Regions from separate parts of the Homo sapiens genome. Here region 1 is linked to region 2. The links are contacts of gene promoters, found by promoter capture Hi-C in human tissues and cell types (Jung and others, 2019). All regions are on one chromosome and are shown on one strand. Each heading gives the region's core, a stretch centred on a gene start or on the middle of the fragment in contact. The rest is flanking DNA. Distances are from core to core; before and after follow the strand shown.

Region 1 (2,548 bases), core at 49-2,548, 270 kb after region 2:
CTGGAGCAGGGGGCGGCGCTCGTCGGGGAGGTTCGGGCCGCACAGGAGCCCACGGAGTGGGGGAGGCTCAGGCATGGCGGGCTGTAGGTCCCGAGCCCTGCCCCGCGGGGAGGCAGCTAAGGCCTGGCGAGAGAAATCGAGCGCAGCGCCGGTGGGCCGGCCTGCTGGGGGACCCAGCACACCCTCCGCAGCCGCTGGCCCGGGTGCTAAGCCCCTCATTGCCCAGGGCCGGCAGGGCCGGCCAGGCTCTCCGAGTGCGGGGCCCGCCGAGCCCACACCCACCTGGAATTCGCGCTGGCCCGCAAAGCACCGCGCGCAGCCCCGGTTCCCGCCTGCGCCTCTCCCTCCACACCTCCCCGCAAGCTGAGGGAGCCCGCTCTGGCCTTGGCCAGCCCAGAAAGGGGCTCCTCAAGTGCCGCCAAAGTGGGAGCCCAGGCAGAGGAGGCGCCGAGAGCGAGCGAGGGCTCTGAGGACTGCCAGCACGCTGTCACCTCTCACTGTTTGTCTGTAGGGTTGATGGTTCTGTGTCGCTGGCCTCAACCTCAGGACAGGACATGACCAGTGTCCCCCCTGGATAGCAGCCAGGGGCCGTGCCAGGTGTGGAGACTGAAGATGTGGCCAGCAGGACCCTGCTCAGTGGAGCTGCCTAGAAGCACCAGAGTGCCCCAGGGCCAGGATGGAACCATCAAAGCCGGCCAGAGGGCCCTGTGCCCAGGGTAGGTGCCTTCTCCCTATGAGCCGCCTAAGGGCAAGCCCTGCCTCCTGGTCTGCTCCCTGCCCTCCCCCAGACAGGCTCCCAAGTTAACTGGCACCAGCCAGTCCATGAGGGGCCCTTGTAGAGAGCGGGGCCCAGAGAAGTCTGTAGGGACTAGGCAATCCAGGAAAGCTTCCTGGAGGAGTAGGGTGTTTGGAATCGCGTGCTATTTGTTCACTTTGTCGTGTGCGCTCTAACGGCCTGTGTTCTCCATCACAGTTTATCTTATTCCCTGCTGCACTCAGCACAGTGCCTGGCGCGCAGTGGGAACCGAATGACCCCCTCCTATTCCTTATGTCAGTTGCCTTTTGTCTGTTTCTTTCATCGTAAGCAGGAATCTGTCCGGTTCGCGGCTGCTTCCCAGGCGCCCAGACCAGCGACCAGCACCGCGTAGGCGCTCGGCACAGACCGAGAACGGAGGCCCCACGCGGGGGCGCCCTGCGGCGAGGCGGGTCCCGGCCGCGCCCGGCGGAGCCGGGGAACTACAAGTCCCATGGTGCATCGCGGCGCCAGCGCGCAGACGCAGCCGCCCTCGGCGTCCTCTGTAGCGGGCGACCTAGGCCGCGGGACCCGGACGGAGGTAGAGGCCAGGGCAGCGCGTCCGGGAGCGGAGTCCGCGCCCGCCGCCGCCATGCCGGACAGCTGGGACAAGGATGTGTACCCTGAGCCCCCGCGCCGCACGCCGGTGCAGCCCAATCCCATCGTCTACATGATGAAAGCGTTCGACCTCATCGTGGACCGACCCGTGACCCTCGTGAGAGGTACGAAGCCCCAGCCCGGGGCTCCCTCGCCGGCCTCTGGGGACCCCTGGATCCCACACCCTGCCTGGATCCTCCAATGCCTCCGGGGTCCCGTCTGCCTGAGACCGCCCCCCGCTGCACCCCGGGGACAACTCCCCACCCCCGGAGACCTCCGAGCTCCGTCGCCTCCTTTGGCCTCCCACTGCACCCCGGACCTCACCTCCCAGGATCCCTTACTCTCCCCTGCACCCCGGGATGCCCCGCTTCTTCCCAGGACTCTTCCCTCCCTGCCGCACCCAGCGCCCACTGCCCCAGGACCCCGCACTGCTCTCCGCCCCCCGCCGCCCCGGGCACCCCTCCACTGCACCGCTGGCCTCAGGCCTCTCTCAAATGTCTCTCTGCCGGATGACCAAGTGTCGGGGTGATGGCCGAGATGCCCAAATTCAGCATCTCTGGAACGAACCGGGAAAATGCCCAGTTCAGTTTTTGTTGTTTTTTTTTTTCCTGAGACAGTCTCACTCTGTTGCCCAGGCTGGAGTGCAGTGGCGCGATCTCGGCTCACTGCAACCTCTGCCCCACCCCGGGTTCAAGCGATTCTCCTGCCTCAGCCTCCCCAGTACTAGGATTACAGGCGCACCACCACCACGCCCAGCTAATTTTTATATTTTTAGTAGACACGGGGTTTCACCATGTTGGCCAGGCTGGTCTCGAACTCCTGACCTCAGGTGATCCTCCCACCTTGGCCCCCAGGTGCTGGGATTACAGGCCTGAGCCACCGTGTCCAGCCTGGTTCAGTTCTTTTTGAACACTTGGGGTGCATAGCATGCTCTGGTGGTTCTTCCGTAAGAGGGTGAAGTCTCCAAATCAAACCCCCAAAGATCTGGAAACCGTGCAACAGCGGACCCAGCTCCCTCTCTTTTGTAGCAGTTGTAGAGCATGTCTGTCCTATGTGTCTGGATGTTCGAGCTCTCCTTTTAGCTCGTTCATTTCCCAGTGAGGAAGCTGAGGCCGTAAGGTGGTAAGTTCTGCTTGCTGGAGGCTCCCTGTTGGAGCC
Region 2 (2,700 bases), core at 7-2,506:
TCCTGAGTGGACAGGGGCCCTGGGCACCACTTCAGAGGTCGGCCAGCACACGCTTGGTTTCTGGGGTACAGTAGCCAGCCCGTGGGTCTCTGCAGGCGGAGACTGAAGCACTCTCTGCCTTCCTGCTTTATAGCAGGAGATCTGAGAACTCCATTCACATCCAGTCACAAGGAGCCCTCAGCGCTCTTTCTAGATCTTTTGAGGAGAAACTGTTATTTTTGTTAACCAAACCTTGAGTGGTCAGTGTTTGCAAAGCTTTCCAGTGAGATCTAACCTCATATCATAGTTTTTGTGTGATGTTGAGCCCTGTAATTTCAAGTATGGTCATCCTTGGTATCCTGCGGGAGTTGGTTCCAGGACCCCCAGGATGCCAAAATCCAAGGATGTGTAAGTCCTTGATATAAAGTGGTGTAATGTTTGCATATAACCTATGCACATCCTCCATATGCTTTTAAATCATCTCTAGGTTACAAGGTTACATATAATACCTAATACTATGCACATAGTTGTTACACCGTATCACCTGGGGAATAATGACAGAAAAGAAGTCTGTAGATGTTCAGTACAGATGCAACCATCCTTTTATTTCTGACATTTTGATCTGAGGTTGGTTGAATCCATGGAAGCAGAGCCCGTGGATACAGAGGGCTGACTTCGTTTCTAAACGTCTGGGATCACAGACAGTCCCATTGCTTAGGACTAGTGAGAGAGCATGTGCCACTCACTGGTTTAAATCTCAATTTCAGTAAGCCTCTCTCTCAAATGCATTTAAAAGTTTTTCCAGTTGTTATGAATTCAGCGTTTCACCGGTTTTTAATGTAGATAGTGCTCTAGAAATAGAGCTTTGTGGCAATTCCTTATTAGTTCTTAAGTTTAAGTTTTTACAATAAAAAGTGATTCAAGAGCCAGGTGCGATGGCCCACACCTGTAATCCCAGCACTTTGGGAGGCCGAGGCAGGTGGATCACCCCAGGTCAGGAGTTCGAGACCAACCTGACCAACATGGCGAAACCCCGTCTCTACTAAAAATACAAAATTAGCTGGGTGTGGTGGCGCATACCTGTAATCCTAGCTACGTGGGAGGCTGAGGCAGAAGAATTGCTTGAACCCAGGAGGCGGAGGTTGTGGTGAGCTGAGATTGCGCCATTGCATTCCTCCAGCCTGGGCAACAAGAGTAAAACTCCGTCTCAAAAAAAACAAACAAAAGTTAGCCAGGTGTTGTGGCAGGCACCTGTAATCTGAGCTACTCAGGAGACTGAGGCTGGAGAATCACTTGAACCCAGGAGGCAGAGGTTGCAGTGAGCTGAGATCGTGCCACTGCACTCCAGCCTGGGCGACAGAGCGAGACTCCATCTCAAAAAAAAAAAAAAAAGAATACTTTTAAGGGAAACTAAAGAGCAGCAGAAGTAGTCTGGCGTCTGTAAACTAGTCATACCAGTATTAACTAATGGTGGTATGTGATTTCTCAGTAGATGTTAAGAAAATACTTTTGCTGGGTATGGTGGCTCATACCTGTAATCACAGCACTTTGGGACGCCAAGGTGGGCAGATCACTTGAGCTTAGGGGTTCAAGACCAACTTTGGCAACATGGCAAAACCCTGTCTCTACCAAAAATACAAAAAATTAGCCAGCTGTGGTGGTGGGTGCCTGTAATCCCAGCTACTCAGGAGGCTGAGGTGGGAGGATCACTTGAGCCCAGGAGGCAGAGGTTGCAGTGAGCCAAAATCACGTCACTGCGCTCCAGCCTGGGTGACAGAATGAGACCTTGTCTCAAAAAGAAAAAAACAAAATACTTTTACCCTGTCTAGTTGTGCCAAAATCCTTGCACAGTGACAAGCTTTCAGGTCTGCCATCAGTAATTGGCATGTACTCTGTGCTTGTAGGGCCATGAAGCCCCCAGGAGGAGAATCGAGCAATCTTTTTGGAAGTCCAGAAGAAGCTACTCCTTCCAGCAGGCCTAATAGGATGGCATCTAATATTTTTGGACCAACAGAAGAACCTCAGAACATACCCAAGAGGACAAATCCCCCAGGTATGGGCCTTTGGAAATCCTTAATCCTTTGGCCTCCACGATTCTCTTTTGAAAATATTTTCTGTTTCTTTATACTGATCCTTTCCCATATTGTCTGGTTCAGGTAATCACTTGTTATCAGAGTTCTTCCAAAATGAAAACGTTCTGATTTGTACTTTCTCTCTTGAAGGTGACTTGAGTAGTCTTGAATTCTCCATCTGTTCTGGAGACTTTGGTTGAATACAGGCACTGAGGACACAAAAGTGGACGGGGGCTTCTGGTTCCTGCCAGGGAGCTGCTCCCAATTGTTCCACGGACCCCCATGAGATTCCTGAAATTGCGTGCAAATTATTGTGCATTTAAACATTTTTCCTAGGGAGGGAGAGTGTTTTTATTCAGATCGTCAGTGGGATTGAAACTCTTAACAAGGAAGAATTGATCTAGCACACATCTACATAGTTCTTCAGTATTTACCCAACCTCCTAGTGGTTACAGTAGGAGGGACTCTTTGAAAAAGGTTTCTTGGCCAGGCGCGGTGGCTCATGCCTGTAATCCCAGCACTTTGGGAGGCCAAGGTGTGCAGATCACGAGGTCAGGAGATCGAGACCATCCTGGCTAACACAGTGAAACCCCATCTCTACTAAAAAAGAAAAAAAATTAGCCGGGCGTGGTGGCGGGCACCTGTAGTC

The links. The method cuts DNA at HindIII sites, captures the fragments that hold promoters and counts their contacts. A contact is called where the count stands out against the background at its distance.
Region 1: the fragment with the promoter of NDUFB10 here is called in contact with a fragment that was not itself captured in region 2 in 1 of the 25 tissues and cell types used here (dorsolateral prefrontal cortex).

The regions. Positions count from the first base shown.
Region 1 is chr16:1,958,240-1,960,787 of GRCh38, forward strand. It overlaps NDUFB10 (NADH:ubiquinone oxidoreductase subunit B10), which reads left to right and starts at 1,299. Exons shown (of 4, transcript NM_004548.3): 1 at 1,299-1,515. The coding sequence starts at 1,386. RefSeq lists an enhancer at 1-356 and silencers at 1,079-1,388, 1,819-1,928. The HindIII fragment of the contact is 2,906 bases long and covers 266-2,548 here.
Region 2 is chr16:1,683,556-1,686,255 of GRCh38, forward strand. It overlaps JPT2 (Jupiter microtubule associated homolog 2), which reads left to right. Exons shown (of 5, transcript NM_144570.3): 2 at 1,884-2,032. Among named protein-coding and RNA genes, the nearest start is that of JPT2, 6.6 kb to the left of the region's middle. The HindIII fragment of the contact is 5,684 bases long and covers 1-2,700 here.